Regions from separate parts of the Homo sapiens genome. Here region 1 is linked to region 2. Evidence: promoter capture Hi-C in human tissues and cell types (Jung and others, 2019). All regions are on one chromosome and are shown on one strand. Each heading gives the region's core, a stretch centred on a gene start or on the middle of the fragment in contact. The rest is flanking DNA. Distances are from core to core; before and after follow the strand shown. Region 1 overlaps CLYBL (citramalyl-CoA lyase). Region 2 holds the start of ZIC5 (Zic family zinc finger 5).

Region 1 (6,084 bases), core at 165-2,664, 290 kb after region 2:
ATGCTTCTTTAGATGAAGTAAGTTACAGCACTACTTCCTTCTTAGGACTTTGTTCACAGACTAAAGACTCCACTCATAATCTTCTGAATGTTATGGCGCTGGTCCAAAATAATCACAAAGGAAAAATTTTAATTTATAGGACAACTCAAATTATCTTTTTCTTCCTTTCATGGAATAGGAAAGAGTGTGTGGATAGGCCACAGTAAAACATCATGAAAAATGCGGCGCTTATCAACTAGGTAGTTTGTTTATTGGGTCCATGTCTGATGCTAATGCTACTAAGGTTTTAGGCAGTGGGAGAAACCCAGTGGTCTGTCCTAAGGCCAAAGACTGGGCCCTTAGTTTCAGCAGCCATCCACGTCTCTGCTACTACACAGAAAGAGGGCTAAATATGGAGCATAGGTATTCCATAGGCACATGGCAACAGCATCAGGGAATACACTCAGAATCCTTCTACCCTGGTGGGCCATTCTGTGATGGAAGCACATTGGATAACTCAAGGTCTCACTTAGGTATAAAACAAACAAGCTTTTCGACTAGTGATGACAAACTCTGGGTTCTGGATTGAGGATGAGGGGTTTATTTTCTTCTCTGGCCAGTCCTAGTCCGTTATTTTTGGAGGCCTCTTGTAAAATTACCTTTTACAAGGTTGGTCAACTTAGATATCATTCTTTTATTTCATTGCAACAGGAAGATTAGTTAGGCAACTCTGCTATCCTAACCTTATGAATGCCATCTCATCAGGCTAAGTTATGTACCTTCTAACTTGATTCACAAAACAATGAAAGTAGAATCTAGGAAAATTGGAGTACGTTTTTATGGAAGGGTGGACTGCATCATCGAAGACTTGCAGGCAAAACCACAGAGAAGTACAAATGGTGCTCTAGAAATTAAAAATGGGTGTCAGATACTAACCTGTGAATGTGTGGAGGAAGACGATGTTTATAAAGAATGCTTTTCATTTGCTGTCATAGGCACTGCCATATTGAAATTCCCCCATTAATTAGTAGGCCAACTTTAAACTGACACTTCCCATGAAAACACGAGCCAGTTTTCAAAGTTGTGAATGCAAAAGTTTCCAGCACAAATACTGAAAAGTACAAACTGAGCATCCTAAATGTTTATATTAACTATTGCCCCAAGAAGGTAATATGGTCATTTAATATTATTTAATGCCTAAGTACATGCATTAGACAGTAACATACATAGCTCTTTAGGATGCTGTTTCTCACATCAGGATCTAGTTGGCCAAACATTTCCTTTGAATGACGTTTAATAACGTGCACCTGGAAATCTGAGGGCAGCTGTGGCATTTTCTATGTAATTAATGGCTAGAGGAATCCATAGAAATGCTTTTCTTCCCATTTCTACCAGACATTTCCCCCCCCACCCTCTCCTTCCCATTTTGGAAAGAGAAGAAATATGGCTTATATAAAGTGGATTGTGGTTACTCATTACATGACATTTGGACAGATGTGTCATTTGCAGATCTAAAAGGTCTGTGCTTCACCACCCTCTACATAATTACTCAGATCACCATCTGAGGAGCTGTAAGAGTGATTCACAAGGAAAAAGAAAGTCCCAGCACAGTGGAGATCTGAGTAACACTGGGAAACAAACACAGATTCCCCGGGTGAGGAAGATGGACGCTGAATACCCTAAAAGGTCACATTAAAGAGGAGTTCTGGGACATTAAGAGCATTTCTTGAGGCCCAAAATTTCGATTCTCCTTTTCTGACATGTATCCAGGGCAGAATTTAATTAGCTTATACAATTTTGGTACAATTAGCTTATACTATTTTTCTTTTTCTTTTCTTTTTTTTTTTTTTTGAGTCGGAGTCTCGCTCTGTCGCCCAGGCTGGAGTGCTGTGGCGCAATCTTGGCTTACTGCAACCTCCACCTCCCGGGTTCACGCCATTCTCCTGCCTCAGCCTCCCAAGTAGCTGGGACCACAGGCGCCCGCCACCACACCCGGCTAATTTTTTGTATTTTTAGTAGAGACAGGGTTTCACCGTGTTAGCCAGGATGATCTCAATCTCCTGACCTCGTGATCTGCCCGCCTCGGCCTCCCAAAATGCTGGGATTACAGACATGAGCCTCCACGCCTGGCGTATACAATTTTTCTAATGAGCAATATATTAGAAATACAAACAAGTTAAAATATTTTGAGTGAGAGAAACAATGGTTACCTAAGTGTCCAGCACATACTAGGTCCTCAATAAATATCTAGTCAGTGAATAAATGCTAATAGAATTATCCTGTACTTTCTGGAATTTTTTTTTTCTGTACTTTGTATTTTTAAAGAGTTAACCTAAATTAAAATGTCAGGAGACTGAAATATTTCACGCTCTTTCTGCCTACCTTTTAATTATATAAAAGATGATTGTAACAAACCCACAATGTAAGTCTCCTCAAACAAAAAAGATAATAATACTTTCCTGATTTCAGTTTGGTTGCAGAAAAAAGGCAAATTGGTGCATAATTAACAATTTGTTGGTGTAAATTCATCTGCATCTTTTAATTGGTGTTAATTAGATTAGGACTAAAATTTCTTTAATCCTCTATCTTGCCTTTTTTGATGCAAACTAATTTTCTCAGCTGGATGTCAAAGTTTCCCATTAATTACACTTTTCTAAAGGGAGCTTCTTCAACAATGTAGACTCAAACATATAGACCAAGAGCAGATTTCAGCAGAGCTTGGAATCAACCTTTTGGGAAAAATAAGGCATGGTGAGAAGTGACACTTAGGAGATAACTAGTGAATTTACCCAAATTCACTGGTGAATCAAGGCTTCCACAATTAGCAAATCAGAGACTGTCTGATACATGAGAGCCTCCAGCATTTGGCAGCTGTAAATAACACCCTGTAACACAACTCTGCCGCAGTGCAGATGTTAGAGCAGACCTTCTGAAACAACAATGACAAAATGTTCAGCCGTATGGTTAAGAAGACAACTTCCTTTTAAAACTCAACAATATCGGTAATGCCATTGCCTTTTACTCTGCATTACCCAGGGGCCATTCATAAGGCTGGCATGGCTATTTCCAGTGGAAAACACGCGCAAATGTAAACCATCTTAAGTGAATTAAGTTCCACATTTCATACGGTTTCCTCCAAATATTGCAACTCTTCTACAACGGTTAGCATGTCAGGAGGAAAAGCCACAAAATACATTCAATATCTTTTATGGCAAGGTGACCTGAAATAAAATTTTATGTAGTCAAGGATTTCTGATAGTTCTTTATCCATAGCTTTCCTCTCACTCTGTAGCAGTGATGATTGAAACCCGATGTGTACTGCAAAAAAGGGCTATAAATCTTTTTATGTACAAATAAAACAGTAGCCATTAAATTTTGCTATGATGTCTGAGTAGATATTCAGCATGAAAACATGATAAAACAACTGTAAACTGATTGTGATCAAATGTAATTACAATGACTTGTCTCCAATGAATGACATGAACTAAATACAGTCACAGATTTCTCCAAAATTACTTTGGGCAAAGAACCAAGAGAACACTATATCCTTTCTTCACTAAAGGCATTTTGCCAGATAAATCGCAAACACACAAGCTTTAATAACTACTGCCAAAAAAGCACTTGGGAACTCATTATGGAAACGTTTAAAACACACACAGACACAGACACACGTGCACTCATATTTAATAAAAACTCTTCCTCCATATTAATATAATTTTACTGAAAAAGCCACGTGTTTTGAGATTTTTAATTGATGCTCCCCAGAAGTAAATCTAAGGAGTGATCGGCAATTACAAGCTTTTTTTTTTTCCTCTCTCAAAGTCAATGTATTTGGCTGCCGTTTCTGGCATCTTTATCTTGGAGAGGTTATAAGAAAATCTACTTGGATATTTTTATGCAGCTAAAAGTAAACAATGATCTGGATTCTGAAATAATCTGATCTTTTCAATACGCCAATGCAGGTAGATTCTCTCCCTCATTCTCTGCCCTTTTTGAGGTGACTTATTGCATTACCTCCAGGAACAGAAAAAATAAAAATGACCGTATACACAGGAGTCACATTCAGCAGTAATTATGGCTGACACAGGTCTACGAACCTAAGGACCTGGGAAAAAAAGGGGACAATTTGTGCTCTCAGCTCTACTGTCCAACTTTGTCCTTTTTTTTTTTTTAACCTCTAGTCCTGAAATTGTGGCAGTATTTATCTATACACCATTTGGGAATATTATTAAGAATGATGGGCCGAGCGCAGTGGCTCATGCCTGTAATCCCAGCACTCTGGGAGGCTGAGGTGGGCAGATCACCTGAGGTCGAGAGTTCGAGACCAGCCTGACCAACATGGAGAAACCCCATCTCTACTAAAAATACAAAATTAGCTGGGCATTTTTCACCCAGTGGTGGGGCATGCCTGTAATGCCAGCTACTCGGGAGGCTGAGGCAGGAGAATCGCTTGAACCTGGGAGGTGCAGGTTGCAGTAAGTCGAGATTGTGCCATTGCACTCCAGCCTGGGCAACAAGAGCAAAACTCCACCTCAAAAAAAAAAAGAATGAAGAAGGCTGGGTGTGGTGGCTCATGCCTGTAATCCCAGCACTTTGGGAGGCTGAGGTGACTTGAGGTCAGGAGTTTGAGACCAGCCTGGCCAACATGGCGAAATCCTGTCTCTACTAAAAAAACAATTAGCCAGGCCTGGTGGCAGGTGCCTGTAATCCCAGCTACTCGAGTGGCTAAGACATGAGAACAAATGAGGTGGAGGCTGCAGTGAGCCGAGATTGCGCCATTGCACTCCAGCCTGGGTGACAAGAGTGAAACTCTGTCAGAAAGAGAGAAGAGGACAGGAGGGGAGGGGAGAGGAGGGAAGAAAGAGAGAGAGAAAGAGAAATAGAAAAAGAAAAAGAAAGGGAGGAAAGGAAGGAAGGAAGGAAGGAAGGAAGGAAGGAAGGAAGGAAGGAAGGAAGGACGGACGGAGGGAAGGAAGGAAGCCAGTCTGTGGCCAGGGGTGGTGGCTCACGCCTGTAATCCCAGCACCATGGGAGGCCGAGGCGGGCAGATCACCTGAGGGTAGGAGTTCGAGACCAGCATGGCCAACATAATGAAACTCTATCTCTACTAAAAATACAAAAAATTAGCCAGGCGTGGAGGCACAGTGCCTGTGATCCCAGCTACTTGGGGGGCTGAGGCACAAGAACAACTTGAACCCGGGAGGTGGAGGTTGCAGTGAGCTGAGATCATGCTACTGCATTCTAATTCCATTCCTAAGTATAACCCCAGAAGAAATATACCCATACAACAATGTGTACAGAAATGTTCATAGCAGCATTATTCATAATAGCTAAAAAGTAGAAACAACCTAAATTTCCAACAACTAATCAATGAATAAATAAAATGTGGTATATATTAGTACATACAGTGGAATATTATTTGGCCCTAAAAAGGAATGAAGTACTGCCACATGCTACAGCTTGGATGAAGCTTGAAAACATTATACTAAGTGAAAGAAGCCAGTCACAAAAGACCACGTATCGTATGATTCCATGTATATGAAGAGTCCAGAATCGGCAAATATAGAAAGACAGAAAGTAGACTAGTGGTTGCCTAGGACTGAGGGTTTTGGGGGAAAAGGAGGAGTGACTGCTAATGGGAACAGGGTTTCTTTTGGGGCTGAAGAAACAGTGATAGAAATAAAATTAATCATGGTGATGGTTGCATAACACTGAATAGACTAAAAACCATTAAATTCATTGAACTGTATACTTTAAATAGGTGAACTGTATGAGATGTAAATTATATCTCAATAAAGCTGATATAGACACATAAAGTATATACACATATAGGGCATACATATATAAGGTAGAAATAGTCACATCTGTAATGCAGTGGTCCTGGTCCCCTTTATGTATGTGACAGTAGAAGATGCAGCATCAATATTAAAGCCTGATGAGTGCTCCAAATACGGTTTCATTTAAATATTGTCTGCCCCTGAAGAGGAGGAATATTAGGAAAAATCCATTCCATGCTTCTACCAAATCTGCTCTTGTCAAGGTCACCCATGACCCCCACGTGGCTAAATCCAATAGCCCAATTTTTGTTTTTTTAAGAGACAGGGT
Region 2 (6,403 bases), core at 1,724-4,223:
CTTCCACAGCCCCCTGCTTTTAAAACTAGTATTATTATTCCCTTCAGCGCCCTGGAAATTGTTGGTGTTTATTTAGGAAGTGTGACAGAATTATTGGGTCTTCAGAAACTTGGGATGTTAAGGGGGTTTGATTTGGCTCCCAAATAGCTTGAAAAAGAAACAGCGCACCTGGGGTCAGGCGGGTCATCACAATAACAAAAAGCGCTTCTACAAAATAAAAAGCTCTTTTATAAAGAAAGGCAATCCCGGAAATCCACTGCAAGCCTTCCTGATGACCATCTAGCTAGGCCTATTCTCAGGTTTAATTGGCAGGCGGTTTATTGGCGCCTTATTGGTGTTGATTGAAATTTTGCTCCCAGTCTTTTCTTTTAAGAATTAGCATCTCAAGTCGATTTACCTGAGTCAATTATCTTTTTAGGGTCTAGGTTTGGTCATAAATTTGCAAATATTCATTAAACTCACTTTGTAAATATCCCTCTTTCCTATCGCTACCCAAATCTCTATTATTTCCTAAGAAAGTCTTTTCTTTTTTAAGGCTTCCATAAAAAGAAATTGATCAGGGAGCTATATTTGAATTAAGACATATTAAATCGATGACAGATACATATCACGCTGTGTTTAACAAGAGTTGTACAAGGAGGCGGGTTCCAGATTCCGCACGGCTCTGCTACACCATTATTCACATTTTTACAGCCTTTCCTTCATGCCTTCACCCATTAAACCATTAAATTTCAGCAATTCAATAAAACAAAGCAGTTATAATTTTGACGAAAAGCTATTTTGAAGGGGGTGGAGGTACCCATTTTATTGCACAATAAAAATGCTCAACAGTCCATATTAAAGGCTAGCTTGTGTTTATTTTCTTCTTTCTTTATTCATTTTGTTTTGTTTTGTTTTTACTTATAACCTGCAGGATTGAACCCAAAGCTGCCATTACTGCAAGAATTAATGCTTATTGCCAAGAAATTCAAATAAAGGAAACTCATTGGAAATGTTCAGAGAGGAAACGATGACAGTGATAATTCCAAATATGATGCTTTCTCCATAAACTATCCATAGAGATGGCACAGCTCTCGATCAACCTTTGCCTGGTTGGCTTGAAATGTTTTAAGTCTTTGACATAAAAATTGTGAAAGGACTCGTCGTTTCCAAAGTGAGATGAAGATTTTGTTACTGCTGTTTATTAAAATTTTTTCGTTGTGTTTCCACACATGCCTTTAATTCCCCATATTTGAACTTCATTGCAACTTAAAGAAAAAGTCCATTTGAAATTTGATGGTAGCATTGTCTTTGTTTGCTTGTCAGTTTTATAAAAGAAATGACATTCCTAAGTCTCATACCGAAGCCCCCTGTTAAACATCGTTCACACCAATGTGAATGGCACTATCGAATCAACTCTTTTCAGAATATTTCTGATTACTTCCCACGGCCATCTCCCCAATAACGGCTTTGTGCAGTCTACTTTTACTTGGACTGCAAATGAATTAAGTTGGAAACATATTTTATTGTATCCCCAAAGAAAAAGATCACATTCTAATCATTATCACTTTTTTTTTTTTTACAAGTAATGTTACGGATGACAGCAAAATACAAATTTTAAAATCCTGGCTTTAATATTTGAGCATTTTGTAACATCACAAATTTCAAAAATGCTTTCTTTTAAAATCTGAAAAGGACACTTTTGGGGCAGTAAAATCCTTAATTTGGGGGGAGGGTCCCACATTTCTCCGCCCACCAAAAAGTGATGCAGGGAATTTCTATTTTTAAAAAATCGATTTGATACCAAACCTCTGGAAAGGGATGGGATTCGCTTTTTTAAAAGCCAGTTTTTATGGTTTTCAAATAAGACATCTTAGAGGTAGACTGGTTTATGAGAAAACGATAAAAAGGTGAAAGATTATTCTATCAGTAAATAAAAAGCAAAGATATTTCTTGATTTCAAAATAATATTTTATTGGATCAGTTCTAATTGTGGATCAGTCAAAGAAACTGAGGCATACATGTGGACTGTGGACTGGGATCTGGACCGGAAGGAGAAATTCTACTTAAAGGACGGTGCTTATTTAGCGGCTTCTCTCTGCAGAGATGCCGTTTGGCCTGCCCCGCCACTGTATCTCCGAAAGGCAAAAGTTAGAATCGCTGCCCGATCTCCTCTCCCCCGCCCCTACTGTAGATCTAATTGGAAGTGGCAGATCTAGAACCGATGAGTAGTGAGATTACACTTCCATCCAACTCCTTTGAACCATGTTGAAAAGGACTCTCCATGAGATAAAAAGTCGAGGTAAAACGGTTCCTTTGGGGGAAAGACTTATTTTGACTTCACCTGGTGTTTCGCGGAGCCAAATCACTCAAGTTGTCTTGCAACCAATAGACTTTATCTTCTTCACTCCGTCTACTGTCTATGCGCCCTAGGTGAGCGCTAGGCAGGTTGGGTGTCCAAACAAGAAGTTTCTAGCATCACCACTACAGGTAGGACGGGCTATTCACCCTTCTCTCCCAAACAGCAGCCCAGGGCTCTTCCACCCCACAAGAGAGGTGGAGGTAGAGGCAGAAAGTACTTGGGTGCCAGAAGGCACACAGAGAAGTGAGGCCAAGGTTTTTGAAACTGGGACTGCCCCTCGGGGGTCCTCAGCCCCTCACCACCCCGCGCCCTCTGCCCGCGTGCCGGCGCGCGCTCCGCGAGGTGCGTCAAGGAAGAGCGGGGCGCTGCGCGCGCAGGCCAGGCTCAAACTTTCTGCAAGTGCAACTTGGGCATCCCCGGGGAGGCGGGGACGTGTGGCTCCAGCGGAGGAGGGGGCGCGAAGCGAAAGCGCAGGCGGCCGCAAGCACGGGGGCGAATCCCCGCTGGGTCGAGGGCCTGAACGGGAGCCAATCGAGCAGCCGAGGCTACTGCCAATCACGCGGCTCCCTCCAATCCCACCCGTGCCATTTCCAAAATCTCGGTCCCACTGTGCAGCTCAAATGTGGTGTTCACTCTGCCAATCGCTGGAGGATAGAGTGGGAACAGGAATAAGCAGAGTTAAGAGGCCAGGACAAAAGAAGTTAAAGAGCGCCCAATACATACATGTTTTTGAAGGCGGGCAGAGGGAATAAAGTCCCCCCAGTGAGGGTCTATGGGCCTGATTGTGTAGTTCTGATGGAGCCCCCTTTGAGCAAGAGGAACCCGCCAGCGCTGAGATTAGCGGATTTGGCAACGGCTCAGGTCCAGCCGCTTCAGAATATGACAGGCTTCCCGGCGCTGGCCGGCCCGCCCGCCCACTCCCAACTCCGGGCCGCCGTCGCGCACCTCCGCCTGCGGGACCTGGGCGCTGACCCCGGCGTGGCCACCACTCCGCTCGGACCCGAGCACATGGCCCAGGCGAGCACGCTGGGCCTCAGCCCTCCCTCCCAGGCGTTCCCGGCACACCCGGAGGCTCCGGCAGCCGCCGCCCGTGCTGCAGCCTTGGTCGCGCACCCCGGCGCGGGCAGCTACCCCTGCGGCGGGGGCAGCAGTGGCGCGCAGCCCTCCGCGCCCCCGCCCCCAGCCCCTCCTCTTCCTCCCACCCCTTCACCCCCTCCCCCTCCCCCGCCTCCTCCTCCTCCTGCCCTCTCGGGCTACACCACCACCAACAGTGGCGGCGGCGGCAGCAGCGGCAAAGGCCACAGCAGGGACTTCGTCCTCCGGAGGGACCTTTCCGCCACGGCCCCCGCGGCGGCCATGCACGGGGCCCCGCTCGGAGGGGAGCAGCGGTCCGGCACCGGCTCCCCCCAGCACCCGGCCCCGCCTCCCCACTCGGCCGGCATGTTCATCTCCGCCAGCGGCACCTACGCGGGCCCGGACGGCAGCGGCGGCCCGGCGCTCTTCCCCGCGCTGCACGACACGCCGGGGGCCCCAGGCGGCCACCCGCACCCGCTCAACGGCCAGATGCGCCTGGGGCTGGCGGCGGCAGCGGCAGCCGCGGCGGCTGAGCTGTACGGCCGCGCCGAACCGCCCTTCGCGCCGCGCTCTGGGGACGCGCACTACGGGGCGGTTGCGGCCGCAGCGGCGGCCGCCCTGCACGGCTACGGAGCCGTGAACTTAAACCTGAACCTGGCGGCTGCGGCGGCCGCAGCAGCGGCCGGGCCCGGGCCCCACCTGCAGCACCACGCGCCGCCCCCGGCGCCGCCGCCGCCGCCGGCGCCCGCGCAGCACCCGCACCAGCACCACCCCCACCTCCCAGGGGCGGCTGGGGCCTTCCTGCGCTACATGCGGCAGCCAATCAAGCAGGAGCTCATCTGCAAGTGGATCGACCCCGACGAGCTGGCCGGGCTGCCGCCGCCGCCGCCGCCGCCGCCGCCGCCGCCGCCACCGCCCCCGGCCGGCGGCGCCAAGCCCTGCTCCAAAACTTTCGGCACCATGCACGAGCTGGTGAATCACGTCACGGTGGAGCACGTGGGAGGCCCCGAGCAGAGCAGCCACGTCTGCTTCTGGGAGGACTGTCCGCGCGAGGGCAAGCCCTTCAAGGCCAAATACAAGCTCATCAACCACATCCGCGTGCACACCGGCGAGAAGCCCTTTCCCTGCCCTTTCCCCGGCTGCGGCAAGGTCTTCGCGCGCTCCGAGAACCTCAAGATCCACAAGCGTACTCATACAGGTGGGTGTCTGTCCCCGGCCGCGCCGCCGCCGCCGCCACCAGCTCCTGCGCCGCCGCCGCTTCCGCCGCTGCTTCTCCTCCTCCTCCTGCTCGCCTTAATTTTTTTCTCCTTCTGCTGCTTCTCTTCGCATACGTATAACCCGGACATGTGACTTCTTTTTTTTTCTCTCCCCCCCTTTTTTTTTTCTATGAATAAGTAATTCGATAGCACACACAGGCCCCGCGTTGGGTTCCCACACGGCGGAGTCTCCAGCGCGCCCGCAGCCCCTCGGCCGGGACCCGCAACGCGCGCCAGCCGCCGCCGCCGCCACCTCGGAGCAGACGCAGCAGCAGCTGGAGCAGGAAGGCGCCCAGGACGGTCGGCAGTCCCCACCCGCCCGGCCCTGGGAAGTCTGGGAGGGCGATGGAAAGAGAGGCCGGGCCGCCCCGGCAAGCGCCTCTCTTCCCACCGGGTCGTAGGCCCCGCGCAGTCTCCGCGCTCCGAGGACCGGGCGTGGGATTTGCTGCCGGATTTGGGCCGCCCGAGGCAGGCCTTCCGGGAGGGGAAGGGACCCCTCCGGGAAGACAGGAATGCGCTTTCGGAACCCCGGAGACCACTCGCACTCGCCCACCGTGACACACTCTTCACGCACACCTTCTTCTGCGTGCGTCTCCCACAACTTTACACACTCATATCCTCCTGCGCGTGCACCCCATTCCCGCGACACCTGTGTGTCCTCACACTCACATCATTTACACGCCCCACGCGCCCTCTCACACGCAGTATCACACTCGCCCTGGAGGGTGCTGGAGTTGACATCTGCCTTTCTAGAGAAGGTTCTAGTTGTAGGAGGACCCGAGCCTCCCACCATCGGTGAGGCCTACCCTGTCGTGGAATTGGTGGGGAGCCACCGGCGTCGTGGGGACCCTCCCACCCCACCTCAAGCCCTGCCTCTGGGGATCCCACAGCGCTGAGGAGGGCGGCTGCGGCGCGAGGCGGTGGATGGCTCCTGTGGGTCGTGTGCCCCCTTTGAGCGGACCAGCGCGTCGGGCGGAAGCGCTGATGAGCGCGAACGCAGTCGGGATTTATAGGGACAGATACGATTACCCCTCGGAGGACACTTAAGTAACTGGAGTTTACGTTCAGTAATCACTTGGCAGATTTATCGGCGCTGCTGCGGCCAGGAGGTAGCCGCCGGGTCCCACGCTCGGGCCGGGGGCGCTCGGGGCTCTGCGGGGGCAGCAGCGTCGGGGTGGCCCGAGGCGGGAGCCTTGGCTTGGCTCCTGCGGGCCGCCTGATGGCCGGTGGGGAGCACGTTTTCCCAGGAGCCCCTTTTCTCTCTAATCGGGATCAGTCCGCCTTAATGATTTTTCCAGGAAGAAACTTCCCAGGAGGCTCTCGTAAAAACGCCCTGGCCCGCTAAGCCGGCTGCTCGCTCCTGTGCCCAGCACTTCTCGGCAGGGCAGGATCCAGGGACCGTGAAGCCGCTCCCCAGCCCGGCCCCGAAAGGGAACTCCCAAGCGCGGGGCCGCGCGCGGCCTAGGGCCCTTCCCGCCTGCCCAGGCCTCGCGAGGGGAGCGGCCTTCCCTAGGCGGCTGCCGGGAGCTGCGGGCGCAGAAGCCGATCCGGGCCCCCGGCGGGACAGGCCACGCCCTGCGCACTGTCCCCGGTGGCTTCCCGGGGCACGCGCGCGTGCGTGGGGTCGGGGGGGGCGCGGGGGACCCCAGGCGGCGAGGGGACCCGCGGTCATTTGGGTTTTTGGCTCTGCGTCTCGCGGACGGTTGCATTTCCTGCCCCCTCCCGGCGGCCG

What was found. Contacts are between HindIII fragments. The study calls those that stand out against the background at their distance.
Region 1: a contact is called between a fragment that was not itself captured here and the fragment with the promoter of ZIC5 in region 2, in 1 of the 25 tissues and cell types used here (dorsolateral prefrontal cortex).

Annotation. Positions count from the first base shown.
Region 1 is chr13:99,675,040-99,681,123 of GRCh38, reverse strand. The region is part of intron 1 of CLYBL (citramalyl-CoA lyase); the gene reads right to left. LOC124903199 (a long non-coding RNA gene) reads right to left here. Exons shown (of 2, transcript XR_007063848.1): 1 at 1-6,084. Among named protein-coding and RNA genes, the nearest start is that of CLYBL-AS2, 13 kb to the left of the region's middle. The HindIII fragment of the contact is 6,398 bases long and covers 1-4,613 here.
Region 2 is chr13:99,968,337-99,974,739 of GRCh38, reverse strand. It overlaps ZIC5 (Zic family zinc finger 5), which reads left to right and starts at 2,973. Exons shown (of 2, transcript NM_033132.5): 1 at 2,973-4,613. The coding sequence starts at 3,137. RefSeq lists an enhancer at 1-526. The HindIII fragment of the contact is 23,774 bases long and covers 1-6,403 here.